Regions from separate parts of the Homo sapiens genome. Here all the other regions are linked to region 3. Evidence: promoter capture Hi-C in 16 types of primary human blood cells and fetal thymus (Javierre and others, 2016). All regions are on one chromosome and are shown on one strand. The core of a region is centred on a gene start or on the middle of the fragment in contact, and the rest is flanking DNA. Distances in the headings are between cores, read along the strand shown. Region 1 has its middle 56 kb from the start of NXNL2. Region 2 has its middle 66 kb from the start of MIR4290HG. Region 3 holds the start of SECISBP2 (SECIS binding protein 2).

Region 1 (4,649 bases), core at 967-3,466, 730 kb after region 3:
CTTGTGCTGCCTGGGTCAGCGTCCTCCATGTGCCACTGATCAGGGCTGAGAAGGCTTCGCAGAGCGCATCTCGGTGTCTTTCCAAAAGCCCAAAACTCTGTATTATGTGGCATCCTCAGACTGGTCTAGGAGAGCCCAGAGCTCCCCAGCTCCTCCTGAGATCAGCTTTTCGGGGGTTGAGAGGGAAAACACAACACTGAAACACGCACACAACTGACAATAATATCCTTCCTCTGCTGGCAGCCGAGTCCTGAGAATGAGTTTGAATAGTTTGGGAATGCCCCGGCCCACTGACCTTTCACCCAGCCGCAGATGGTAGACTTTTATTTTTATTTTTACCAACTCTTGCTCCTGCTCCTGATCCCTTAAGGTTTGAACTCTGTCCTACATGTTGTTCCCCTCTGTGTGCCCATTGCTGCAGGTTCATTATACAGGTAAACTCGTGCACAGGGGTTTGGTATACAGGTTATTTTGTCACCCAGGTACTAAGCATAGAACCCACCAGTGATTTTTTTGTAATCCAGCCCTAAACCTAAAATAAAAGTTGAAAAAAAAAACACAAAAAACTACCTATCAGGTACTATGCTCACTGCCTGGGTGATGATATCATGGTAGTACTCACCCCCAAACCTCAGCAACATGCAATTTATCCATGTAACAAACCCACATACATGCTCCCTGAACCTAAAAACATAAAATAAAATAAAAAAATAAAAGAACCCTGTCCTACATGGATAGAAATTATTTCAAAACATACCTCAAAAATGCCAGGACCTCATGCTCATTTGCCACTTGGTTAAGTCACAGTTATCCTATGTGACTGTTAGATGAGTTTCCTTCAAACGTGAGCCCTCTTCTTAACAGAGAGTTGTTCCTGACTTGGAAACTCTGCTTTTCAGTGGACCATAAGGTGCCCCTCACTCATTGCAAAGCGCAGGGAGGTTCTTGAGCTCTCCTGGCTGGAACACAGCAGGCAATTTCCTCCGTGAAGCTTAACTTTTATTTTATATAAAAACAGATAAATTGTATGTACAACATATAATTTTTAACTTACAACAAAGTATAGCTACATAATTTTATAGTGGGGTTTTGTGATGACACATTAGGTCAAAGTAAAGAGCACAAAGTTGAACTACAATGCCGCCAGTTGCAACGCTGCCCACACGAAGGGAGCTGGTCCACAGTCATATGTATGGCACGTTCGTGTCCTCACAGCAACGACACAGCTTCTGAGCTCCATCCTCTGCCTGGAACCAAGCAAGTCTATTTTGCTGCTAATAGTAAGGCCCATCTCAATTTCAGAATTTGTGTTAAAGAATGAAAGAATTCTGTGTTGAGACTCAACAAAATACTGTTGTCGAAATGTGCGCAGCTGCTGCAGGGTCCTCATTCACTGGCCTTGCCAGGAAGCCACAGAGTCGGCAGGCAGAAAACGATGCCCACATTGAGTGGAGAATTTCTGTTTCTAATGAAATCTTCCACGCAGTTGATGGCCTGCATACCCTGGCCTATTTTCCACAGCAAACAGAGTCCTTCCAAAAGATTCATCAACTTAGCAGCATGCATTACATATACACACGATAGACCCTTTCCCCCTCCATTACTGCCTCTCAGCTGACTGCATTTGGCCTGAGACAACTTCATGGCTAGAAAAATCAATAGTGTGGAGGGCAGCCACGCCTTGCCAGTGGATCCATTATCTGTCTCTTTCCTATCTCCATTAATAGAGGGAAATGTTTTCTTAGTGTTATGCGAATTAGAGAAAGAAGCAGTGTCTGCCACAGAATATTGTATTTGTTGAAATTGCCTCTTTGGTGGAAATTTGCCATAAAGTATGTCTGACCAAAGGCTAAAATCACCCAATATTCCTGATTCACTTTCCCTCTTCCTGCTCCCAAGAGAGCATCGGCATTGGAGGTGCATGCTCTCCAGGGGACATGGATGAGAGTGAGGCAGGATATTTTCTTGACCCTTTTGCAGGACTCACGAGAAGGGTGCCCCTTTTACTCAGCTGACCATGCTCAACCCCTCGCAGGAGGGAGCACATGAGCGAACCAGTGCAGGAACCAGCCCGCCAATTCTGGCTTCTGTGCAGACAAGAGCAAACTCGGTTTACTCCAGCCCACCACACTCCATTTCTTGCCAGAGGGAGCGAGTAGGCAAGCCAATGCAGGAACCAGCTGGCCATTTTGGCGCCAGCAGAGAAAACTCAGTGCAGGCCCTGCGTCAGCATCCAGGTGGGGGCGCCTGCGATCCCAAGGCCCCAGAGGGCATGTTGCAATACTTAGTTCTACTGTCCACAGACAGCAGTGTGTTATCAGCTCAGTGGGCCTTTTGTCTCGCTGCGTGGGGCAGCTGCCCTCCACCAGTGAGGGCAAAGGGCCAGTGTGACAGCCTTTTTGGTACCCACATTTGGTAGGTCTTGAATTCTTGTCCAGTTCCAAGAAGAATGCGGTCACATGAACAAATTGAAGGATGATGAATGTGGAAATTTTATTGAGTGATGAGAGTGGCTCTCAGCAGAGAGTGGAACTGGAAAGGGGATGGAAAGGACAGGTCACTCTCCCCTGAAGTCAAGCAGCCTCTCTGCCTCCCTCCTCTGAAATCAAGTTGCCTCTCTCTGAAGTACAGCTGCTTCTCTCTACCAGCTAAATCTGGGGTCCTTATAAGCACAGGATGGGGGGTGGGGCAGGCCATAAGTAGTTTTGGAAAAGGCAACATTCAAATGGAAAAAACACATTACTCAGAAAAAACTAATAGGGAGAGAGTAGGCAAAGAGGGACGGAAGTTCTCACTTTAAGCCGTGGGTGTCAGGCTTTTTGGCTTGAAAGTGGGGCTTCACCAGGGACCAACTCCTGTCTGTCTAGAGTTTCTCTGCCTCCTGCCTCTATCAAGAGGAAATAGTAAAAATAAGTGAGGTGACAGCCATGCCCTATTCCAAGTGTCAATGTACAGTGGGGCACAGGCAAGGCAGTGGGGCCAGTGGCTCCCTGCTGGGCCTTGTCCTCAGATGGGCACAGTGGGTGGCTCGCAAGAAATTTGAGAGGTCTTCCCCACTGCCTTGCATTGATTCTGGAGCCTGTGTGTGCCAGCCCTCTGATCCCTGCAGGGCCACCCTCCCTGAAAGCATCTAGAACAGGGGTGATGCTGGGGTTGCCCCACACCACGCTCAGCCCTGCCCTCAGCCAGGCTCACCCCAGGGGGACAGGGTATGTGAGAGGCGTGTCTACACACCCCTACACAAGGCCAGGCCAGTGGGGACTTCTGGAGGCATCACAGGTGTGCATGTGGCAAGGGGCACATTTAAAGCTGGTTTCTAGTTCCTGCAGAGAAGAGGAAACTGGAGCCTCTCCCCTGTACCCTGTGTGTGCACAGCCCCATTTTCAACCTTGCTTACCAACCTTGGCACCATCCCTGGGAACGTTCCAGTTTTTAAGCTTCTCTGCTCCTCTGTTTAACTCTGGCCCTCTTGTCACACCAGAGCAAATCCTGGGACACAAAAGTATCCTAGCAGGACATGGGGTCAACAGAAAAGGCTACGGAGTGGTAGAACAAACTAAGATTTGGAGCCCAAGTTCAGTTTCCCTTGAGGTTTCTCCATGGAACCAAGTGAAAATGATACCCCCCACCCCTCCGCTCACACTGTTCCAGCGTGGACACACACACCACAATCTGCCATGAGCAAAGGAGAATTCTGGGCAGCACAAGCTATTGTGGCTAAATCCAGAATTAGGGTCCATTTTCCCCTTGCCCACAGCTGGTTGCCTTCTCTGCTCATGCATAGAGCAGACACTGAGGCCCAGGGCACCCTGCCCCACAGCCCAGCAGGGCAGACAGAGGCAGATCAAATCTCTCTTTCCTTTGTGTGATGTTCTTGGGTATCTTTTCCCACTATTTTCTGTGGGCAGAAAAGGGATGGTATAGAAATGTGTCATCTCCCACCCACAAGACCTCCACAGTCAGGAGAGAGGTAAGGATTGTTCTGCCAGCTCCTATTCACTTTATTCATTATTGAAGACTTTAAAGACGAGGTAATGAGACAACCTGGACCCTGTTGAAGTATATCAATAGTAGAATTTTTAAAAACAGAGCATGGCCCCTCTGCACGAAATCCACAAGTTTCTGTGTGTCTGCGTAGCTGTTGGGAGAGAACAGGCAGGACTGACACCACTCCTGCCGTTCCACCAACCAACCTCCCTGGCAGGGCCTTGCCTTTGGGGAAGCTCAGCCCATGAGTGGTATTAGTTCCTGTCTTCATCCATTTGGGTGGCTATAATGGAATACCATAAACTAGGTGGCTTATAAACAACAAAAAATTATTTCTCACAGTTCTACAGGCTGGGAAGTCCAAGATCAAGGCACCAGAAGACGTGTTGTCTGGCCAGGTGAAGGCTCCTTCCTCAGAGACAGCGCCTTCTCGCTATGTGGTAGAAGAGGTGAGGCAGCTCTCTGGGGTCTCTTTCAGGAAGGCACTAGTCCCATTCACGAGAGCTCCACCCTCATGACCTCATCCCCTCCCACAGGCCCCACCTCTTACTGACATCACACTGGAGAGTCAGTTTCAGCACAGGAATCTCAAGGGACACAAACATTCAGGCCATAACAGTTCCTTTCCCATGATCTTTAGTGCATTGACCACTGAAGATCAC
Region 2 (4,571 bases), core at 89-2,588, 790 kb before region 3:
AGCATCAAGTAACAGATAAGACTTCCTGAAGATGTCACACTTTTGGATACAGTTTGAAAGCTCTCTAGCAGTTCTTCAGGTCAAGAAGAAAGGAGCAACATTCTAGGCAGAGGGAAAGGAGGGCATGATTGAGTTTGTACTCCCCTAGAAGCAGATCCCAGTACAAGGATGTGCAAGTAGTTTATATGGGACTGTAGGGAACACAGGGAGGTAAATGAGAAAATGTTGAAGAAAAGAAGGGCAACTGGAGAAAACATACAGCATAAAGTTAGCAAGCAAAGTGAGCATTTGGAACCTAATTTCACAGGGAAACTGGGAAATGGTGAAGAGCACACACCTAGAGGAGAGGGAGCTGGGGTATTTATACAGTCATATACTGCAGCCCATTGGCGATGGTCATACCTGGCCTTTCATTAGAAGGGCAGTGTAGTTTTGACTTGGCTTTGGAGAATTCCTAAAGGCCCAAATACACAGATACTGGCAGTCAGAAGTCACTGGAGCATTCTAAATAATAATGCCTGAAAAATTTCGGCAGGGCAAGAGCAGATTCTGCTACAAAACATGAGCCACTGAGATGCAAACAAAGCAAGTGTGTTCACAGATCATTCTCTGGGGTTGGTCAGAGCAGCCCAAGATAAACCTGGAAATGCTGTTGTTTATTTCCTTCTTTATCATACTTCGACAGGTGGGAACTGCTATGGTTTGAATGTGTTCCCCAAAAGCTCATGTGTTGGAAATTTAATTCACAATGCAACAGTGTTGGGAGATGGGGCCTAATCAGAGGTGATTGGGTCATGAGGGCTCTGCCCTCATGAATGGTTAATCTTTGGAGTGGTTAGTCAAGAGTGGTTGTTATCAAGTGAGTCTGGCCTGGTTCTCTTTTGCAAGTGCTCAGTTGCCCATCCACCCTTCCACCATGGGATACCATGGGATAATGCAGCAAGAAGGCCCTCAGCAGATGCAGCTGCCCGATCTTGGACTTCCCAGCCACCAGAATTATTAGCTAAGTGAAATTCTATTCTTTATAAATTCCCCTGTGTGTGGTATTCTGTTATAGCAACACAAAATGGACTAAGATAGGGGCTCATGACTGGGGAGAGACTGCTGCTCCCAGGGCCAGCCAGTTCTCACAGACAGCAGACTCTCCTGGGAATGGGCTTTTTATACACAAACCAATGAACCCAGAGCCCATGTTCCATACCACCTCCTCTGTCTGACTGTTATACTACAGGAGGCAATGTTCCTCTGCCCTAGTCATCCCAGGGCCAGCAGCAGACAACTAGAGACATCCCTTATGCTCAGAGTTCATGGGAATTAAACTAGAAAATTCTAGGCTGCTTACTCTGCCTTGCCCATTTCTTCCTTTGAAAACCACAATAAAAGCACTTTCCCATGTTTTTCCCTCTATCCTCTCTGCCTCCTGGCCAAGCCTTGTGCCTCCCCATGTGGCCCAGCATAGAGTGCTTCCTGTTTCTAGGGAACTATGAGCAAAAACTTCTTCCTCCATATCAGTCATTTCTGTGTTGTTTGCCCTACCACACCTGCTGAAGACAAATTTCAGGTACATTTTAACACAGAAGACACAGTGCAAACAGCCATAGGGGGCCAGGGCAAAAGACCCGGAATGTCTCCTCTGTGTCCCTGGAGATTTTATTCTTGGTAAGTACACACACTTGCATAGTAATTACCCTTACTAAGTTGAAAGACGAGTTTGCTCAACTGGATACAGTCTCTGATGACAATTTTCTTGGATGTCTTCCCTCTCTAATAGCCATAGGACTCTATTTTCTTTCTGGCATTCAAGTTCCTTTGATGTGTCTAAATGCAGCCTGTTTCCTCCAACCAGCCTGTGTTTATGCTGGAAATACAGATCTGGGGGACATGGGGGTTGGGGCTGACATTTGCTGTGTCCAGGATCCTGGTCCCATATGCTGCAGTGTGAAGTTTTCACAAAGACAGTGGCTTCCCTAGATGGACTTCCTGCCTGAGCAAAAACGGGTCATCATCAATAACAACAATAAAAATCAGCAAAGTAGTCATATACACATAACAGTTTTCCTGAGTAGAAGATCAGTTGGAAGAAGGACAAGCAAAGACTCTCCTGGGAGTGGGTTTTTTATACACAAACCAACCAACCCAGAGTCCATGTTCCAAGGGCTGAGTCACTGCAGTAGGTTGTTGTAATTGTCCAGTGAGAGAGAGCGTAGCCTCTAGTGGAATGGCAGGCCTAGGAAAGAGAGGCAGGGAAACCAATGCCAAAGGGTTTAGGAGGTGTCTGCATGGAAGAGTGCAACTAGTGGGCACGTGGAAATGAGAACGACAAGGAGGAAGAGGAAGAAAGGATGATTACTAAAAGTCTTGCTTAATTAGGTAGTGCTGTTTCTAACCAAACTAGAGACTATGGAGAAAGAAGCAAGTTTAAAGAAATAAAAAAAAAATTAAGTTTTGGACGTAGGTATCTGTGTTAAAACCAAATGGTTATGTCTAGTAAGCTATCTGAATTATGAAATATGCATAAATATCCACACTTTGGCTGGAGATTAAATTTGGAAATATCCCATGGTAACTGAAATCCTGGCTGTGTACAAAGTCCCAGAGTCTGAAATGAGAAAAGAAGAAAGCAAAAGGTATTCACACTGACAGCTCTGTTGTCAAATGGAACTCTGTTATTACAGCTCCTTGGCTGAGTATAGAGATGTTCATGTTAACTGGAAAAAAAATAACATGTTAACTGGAAAAAATAAGTATGGTGTATCAGACTAGCCAGTGCTATCACGGAAATCTTTGTCATGTTGGTTGAGAATGAAGTTATTCTTACTTCAAGAGAAACAGAGGCCTGAGGAGCACTACTTTTAAATTTGTTTTCTAGGAGACCCATGCTATGTTGCTAATAAACAGTTTTGTTTTGACAGCTTCCATTTGCTATAAATATAGTTCCAAGGACAGTGTCCAATATTTCCTGATTCGAATCCAGCCTGAGCAGGTGTGTTCACTGCATGAGTCATGCCATTAGCTGCCAGGACTGTGACTTGGCCACAAAGGCACTTAACGGAATAAAAGCAAGCTGGGAAGAGAACAAGGCTTCTGGGATCACCGTTGCTTGGAATTTGGAGAGTCTCTGATAGGTTTGCTTCTTTCTTTTCATTACTGTTAAAAGCAATAGCACCAACCAGGGTTCCAAGGAGAATTTCTACATTAATAGATAAATATTTGATCAAACACAAGACCTTTCTTATTCCCTTTTTAATTCATAGTGTTACTGCATTTGCACTGATATGCTGCTCATGCTAGTTATGCCACTCAAAATACCCACTTTACCAAAAGTAGGTAACTTCCTCAGAGGAAGCTCTTTTTTTTTTTTTTTTTTTTTGAGACAGAGTCTTGCTCTGTCGCCCAGGCTGGAGTGCAGTGGCACGATCTCGGCTCACTGCAAGCTCCGCTTCCCAGGTTCACGTCATTCTCCTGCCTCAGCCTCCCGATTAGCTGGGACTACAGGCGCCTGCCACCACGCCTGGCTAATTTTTTGTATTTTTAGTAGAAATGGGTTTTTACCATGTTAGCCAGATGGTCTCGATCTCCTGACCTCGTGATCCGCCCACCTCGGCCTCCCAAAGTGCTGGGATTACAGGCATGAGCCACCACGCCTGGCTCAGAGGAAGCTCTTTAATGAAGAAGTAACATATTAAATATAACTACATTAAGAACCTTTCACTTTATTCTACATAAATATACTCACAATTTAATTAGTCATTGAAATGAGGAAGTCACATGCAATGCATTTCAGTTGAAGGTGTCTGTCTTAAAAGAGTGATGTAAGGGGGTCTTATAGTACCTTTATGGATGACAGCAGTGTCTGGGACTAAGGTCACAGAAGTGAAGATCTGAGCCCACGTTCAACAATCTTATAAATTACAAAGGAATGTTTAGACACAAAATCTAGACAGTGAAAACAGAGATGCTGCAGTAGCAGGCCTAGAAGAGAAGGAGGAATTTGCAGTCCTTTTTCAAATCACCTTTTCATAAATGAAAACAAACTCATACAACAACAAAATAGGGCATGCATTCTGATTCAGGATGCTGTTTTAAAGTTCTGTTCAGCAGTTTACATGGACTTTGATATCATAACACTCTGATTCAAGTGCTAAATATAAATAGGGTAAATATTTCTTGGCTTCCAGTGGGGTAATGGTAAACCCAAATTAGAGGCAGCACCACGGTAAAGAGCTATGTTGGATGAAATCCTGAACCACATTTGTGGGAAGGACACAGGGCTGGCCCAGTGAAGTCACTCTTCCAGTGAAACAGCAGAGCTAACATCATCCTTCCAGGAATCCTGCAAAAGAAGCCACCTGGGATGCAGTAAGATGACAGTAGCTTTCTGGAGCTAAGATGACAGACAGTTTTTTCTTTGGCCACAGGTTCTGATTACAAATCAGCAAGCAAATGTGTTCACACAGATGAAATAAGGGTATAGAAAAGGATGATGATTTGTCCCATTTATTCCAGCCCTTTTTACTGGCTTTTACAGTCCTTTTTACGTGGCTTTCATTCATTCTTCTTTCTGCCCATGA
Region 3 (4,884 bases), core at 937-3,436:
GCCTTCTTTCAACTCAAATTTAGAAGAACTTAAGCCTGAAATGTGTAAAATTCATCTCCATATTAACAGATATAAAGTAAAAAGGTGGAAAGCAAAAGTCAACAATTTCCAAAAAATTATCCACACAGAGGCAGCTATGGTTGCTAGTCCCCTCCCCTTCGCTCAACAAGATTTTAAAATGTTAACCTTAAAAAGGAGGAGTACGTTTATTTGGTCCTTTCTTTGCCCTTCCCTCCACATTTCATCTCCCATTAGATATATGATATATTTTTAAACCATATGAACAAATGAACCTTGAAACGGGATTTTTTTTTTTTTTTTTTTTTTTTTGAGACAGAGTCTCACTCTGTCAGCCAGGCTTGAGTGTAGTGGTGCTATCTTGGCCCACTGCAACCTCTGCCTCCCAGGTTCAAAGGATTCTGCTGCCCCAGTCTCCCGAATACCTGGGATTACAGGTGTCCGCCACCATACCTGATTAATTTTTGTATTTTTGTGGAGACGGAGTTTCACCATGTTGGTCACACTGGTCTTGAACTCCTGACCTCAGGTGATCCACCCACCTCGGCCTCCCAAAGTGCTGGGATTACAGGCGTGAGCCACAGCGCCTGGCCTGAAACTGCATTTCTTATTAACAAATGCAATGCAGTCTCTACTATTTCTTTGCCGAAAATAACAATGAGTATGAAGAAAAAAAAGGGGAGTTAAAGCTTCTGTTTTTGGCACAGGATACAGTTAAGTTGTGCTACTGGCTCAGACTCTTCTTGGTTGAAGAGCATTCTCTCATCATCTGCAGAACTTTAGTGCAGTAACTGCTGAGTATTTGAAAGTCTAATCACCATTAAATCCAAAATGTAAGCCCCTAGGTAAGACTTTTAGAAAGATACATACTCTGTCACTGGTGGTTCCTGAACAAACGGATAGTATGTGGCTGCAGAGCTGGGGAAGACACATGCTTCTGAGGACTCTAACCATGCCACATTGAGCCCGGCAAATCTGGGGACAAATGGTTTGACATCTGCTGATAACTTGATGCCCTGAGGAAAAATATGAGGTTTTGGCCACAAACATTCAGAGATCAAGCAAATATAAACAAACAAAAAGACCCAAGAGGTGTTCCTAATAGCCCCAGAAATGTTCCCGATGTTGTTTAAAAACTTCTGCCTCGTAAAGACAAGAACCTGCTTGCTAACGATTTCTCCCCAATGCTTTTTTTTTTGTAGAAAAGGCAGTAGTTCAAACATTAAAAGTGAAAAATGACAACGAATTCAAGTGGAAATAAAACAACACAGATTATATAGTTTAGATCTTGGAATAAGGGTGTTTTTACCACAGATTCACTTAGAAATAATAGAACTGCACACAGTACAACTACTGCAGTCAAATACACGTGGACTGTTTAACTACAGCACCCAAAACACACTGCAGACGTTTATTTCCATTACATTTTCTTGAAAAAGTTGCACAAAAGCATATGCATTTTACTCATGAACCACTAAGTCTTGCTTTATTGAAATACCAAACCTTGCTTTGCTAGAAAATATTATCACCACGAGCCTTTGAAATTTCAATTCACTAAGATTTCTTTCTTTAGTTTTTAGTGACGTAGTAAGAGATTTACTTTCACCGAGAATTTTATGGGTCTAAAAATGATGCAAGCGATCGCCAGGGCTCCATCTAGTGGTAATGCTGAGTACGTAGAGCGGAGAATGACGTTCAGAAAAACGCAGGATCCTTTAAAACAATCTATCCGTTCCCAAGAGCGCGGGAAGCTCGCCAGAGTCCCCCCGCCCCGACTGCGGGGAGCGCCGGGCTGGGCCGCAGTCACTGCGCTGGGTGACATCGCACCACAGACGCGGCGCTAACTGTGGGCGGGGTCTGTAGCCGCTGACCGCCACCCCAAGGCGGACCCGAGGCGGGGCGCGAAGATCGCGGCCACCCGGTAGGGCGCTCCCGTGCCGTCACCAGCATCCGACCCACGCCCGCTGGACCAGCCCCGTCACCGCCCGGCCGAGCCCCCAGTGCGAGGCAGGCGGACGGACTGAGGCTGCCGAGAGAGCCCCCGTCGGCCCTTACCTCGCTTTCGGGCTCCCGCGGCCCCTCCGACGCCATGCCGCGAGGCGCGGAGGAGGCCGCGTCACGGAGGCCAGCAGCGGGCCGTCGGCTTGCCGGACAGACAAAGCGTTTCCGCCCCCGCAGGCGACGCCAGGAAGTGCGTCACAGCAAAGCGACAGAGCCCGCCCTTTCTTCCGGCCGGAAGTACGCGGCGGCGGCACTGGACCTGCGCGGGCAGCACGTGGAGGCAGTGGGGCGCTTGCGGAAAATGGGGACCCCCAGGAGTCCTCTGGGCTGGGGACCCACCGTAGCTTGCGGGAGTCTTGGATCTGCCTTTTAGTGCTGGGATATCGGAGATAGTCTCCACCAAGGCAGTAGCGACTATAAACAAGAGTTAGGCCGTGATTTACTTTTCTCCCCTGGGCCTCACGAGTCTAGCGTTAGGACGGGATGGGGTAGTCTGGAAAGGCCTCTCGCTGAGGTGACCTTTGAGCAGTCACCTGAAGAGAAAGATTTACTAATAAGGAAACTGAGGAGGCCGAGATTACTCTCACCCCCGCCACTGCATTTCCCTAAAATTTCCCCAAGATTGGTGACTTACAGGAATTGCATACCCTGTAGGTCCTACAAACCTGGAAAGCCTACAAGACTCTTGATGGTATCCTAAATTTCCAGAAACCTTAAGTTTGGAAGTAGCCACAGAAAATAATTTAAAAATCGCTCGGTTTCTTTCAAAAATTAAAAAAAGTGCTAAGATATGGTCAAGAGATGGAATAGTATAATTTTCACGAGAAAAAAAAAGTTCTACACAGAGCAAATTCGTTAAATATTGAGAGAAATGTATAAAGTGCGGCAGGGATAGGAGGTTGACCAAAAGTACAGGGAAGAATGCAGAGTGGATTTCAATAGATGGAGGAGGAACTTTCCTCTCACTCAAAGGCTTGGAGGAAAGTGCAAGTGGATTTAAGGAACAGAAAATGTCAGCAAAACAGGCTATTTGAGGAATGGGGATTAGGTTGAGGCAAATTGTAGGTTTCCTCTGTCCCTTGCACAGACGTTAACTCTACCATTGAATACGAAGTATTTCAAGCAAGTAAGGCAGGTGCAGCTCCAGTTTTTTCAGATTTCTGTCCTGGTGGGTCTCAGTTCACTACACAGCCTCTAGCAGAAGTGATCCTTAGGGTCTGGTCTGGCAGGAATTTATGCTGGAAGTTTAGGGGTAGCTGTCGCCTTCCTTTCAGCACTATTGGGTCTACCCGGAAGTGTAATGAAGTTTACTTGATTTTGTCATGTTTCTGTTGGTTACCCTGGACACAACCTATGGTAGTGGCAGTAGATTTTAGGATGCTGCTAATCACAACCTTCAAAATTTATTGCCCTCATGTGTAAAGACACCCTTTCTTAACCAATGGACCTGATGTATGCTGGCTGCTCATTTAAGATGTTTCTATAGCATAGCAATTAATTAGAATAACTCCAAAACACTTTCCTAGCAGCTAAAAAGGCAAAGGTGTTTTACAGTGTTTTTGAACTTTTAAAAATGTGGTGATACTTTATAGGAAACATTATCCCTACTTTGGAAATGTAGAAGAGGATAAAAAAGAGGTTTCTCCCAAGACCACCAGTGGCCAGTGAAGTAGCCCAGATAGTATTAATTTGGGCTTTCCTGTTCTAGACAATTCTCCAGGAATTCAAGAGGTAAAATCTACTTTGGCTTTAGTTTAAACATATCCCTGGTAATTAATTTCTTCATTAAGTGAATTAAATGGTATCCAGATCATACCGCACTATTTTAAACTCATTTAACATCATCTTTAAGGTAAGTTAACTTCCTCAGAGCTAAAACTATAACACTGAAATCAATTTCAATAGTCACAAATTTCAATAGTCACAAATTAAGAAAATATACCTCAAAAACTTGAAACAGTGATAAATGCAACATACAAACTTTATTGAACAAAAGTAAACTGTTTCAGTAAACTCAAACAGGCACTTAAGAGAAAAACTGACTGGAAGAACTTTTATCTTAAACATCTTACAGTAACCTACTTGCAGTTGCATTTAACTGAGCTCTGTTGCTGTGAAGAATACAGCTCATGCACAGGTATGGATGAAAGATTTGTACATTTCTCAAGTATTCACTGAATACTACCTTATATACACATATACATTAAATTTGAAAAAGATTTGACGATCCCCAGATAAACTTCATTTTTGTTGATCTTTTGGAAGAGGTCGTCTAAAGAGAAGAATATGTGGTTCTGTGGAAAGAAAATGTTTTGAATCATTTTAATATGATTTTCATATACTCAACAGAAATTCAAAAGTATTCTCAACTAAGCCAGAATAAAATAAACTAAGTCCACTATTAATTGGTTTGAGGTATCCAAAATGATTTTTTTTTCACAGTTACTGTCTACAGTAAATAGATTAAAAGTAAAAAGATTACCTCTTTATAGGGAAAAACACCTCCTTCAAATCACCTACAGGATCTCATACTAATGCTCATCCCCATAGATTCTGTTTCAATAGGTGGGGCACAGAAATCTACACTTAAGTTCTTCAGTTGCTTTTGTATTATCTGGACTGAATTCTAATAGGATTACGTATCTCAATCCCAAGAAAGTGATGAGTCCTTTTAGAGTTTTCGATGCAATGCTTTTCTTTAACAGCAGAGTAGAAGATAGTTTTAATTCCACCTACTTCAGCTTCTATAGTATGTCTTCAAATTTTGTTCAAAGCATTATAAATGCTGTTAGATTTACTGATAATCCAAATATAAAATTTAACCCACACTGTTTTAGTCTAGAAAACCCACAAAGTTTTAGTAGA

The links. Contacts are between HindIII fragments. The CHiCAGO score rates a contact against its expected background, and 5 or more counts as called.
Region 1: a contact is called between a fragment that was not itself captured here and the fragment with the promoter of SECISBP2 in region 3, in 1 of 17 cell types (M0 macrophages). The highest score is 5.0, in M0 macrophages.
Region 2: a fragment that was not itself captured here is called in contact with the fragment with the promoter of SECISBP2 in region 3 in 3 of 17 cell types (total B cells, naive B cells and fetal thymus); the score reaches 9.1 in total B cells.

Annotation. Positions count from the first base shown.
Region 1 is chr9:88,588,367-88,593,015 of GRCh38, reverse strand. No RefSeq gene overlaps it. Among named protein-coding and RNA genes, the nearest start is that of NXNL2, 56 kb to the right of the region's middle. RefSeq lists an enhancer at 3,113-3,618. The HindIII fragment of the contact is 2,446 bases long and covers 994-3,439 here.
Region 2 is chr9:90,105,661-90,110,231 of GRCh38, reverse strand. No RefSeq gene overlaps it. Among named protein-coding and RNA genes, the nearest start is that of MIR4290HG, 66 kb to the right of the region's middle. The HindIII fragment of the contact is 6,474 bases long and covers 1-4,571 here.
Region 3 is chr9:89,315,802-89,320,685 of GRCh38, reverse strand. It overlaps SECISBP2 (SECIS binding protein 2), which reads right to left and starts at 2,186. Exons shown (of 17, transcript NM_024077.5): 1 at 2,074-2,186; 2 at 889-1,034. The coding sequence starts at 2,109. It overlaps CKS2 (CDC28 protein kinase regulatory subunit 2), which reads right to left. Exons shown (of 3, transcript NM_001827.3): 3 at 3,983-4,313. The coding sequence ends at 4,261. RefSeq lists a silencer at 1,827-2,146 and an enhancer at 2,317-2,536. The HindIII fragment of the contact is 8,029 bases long and covers 710-4,884 here.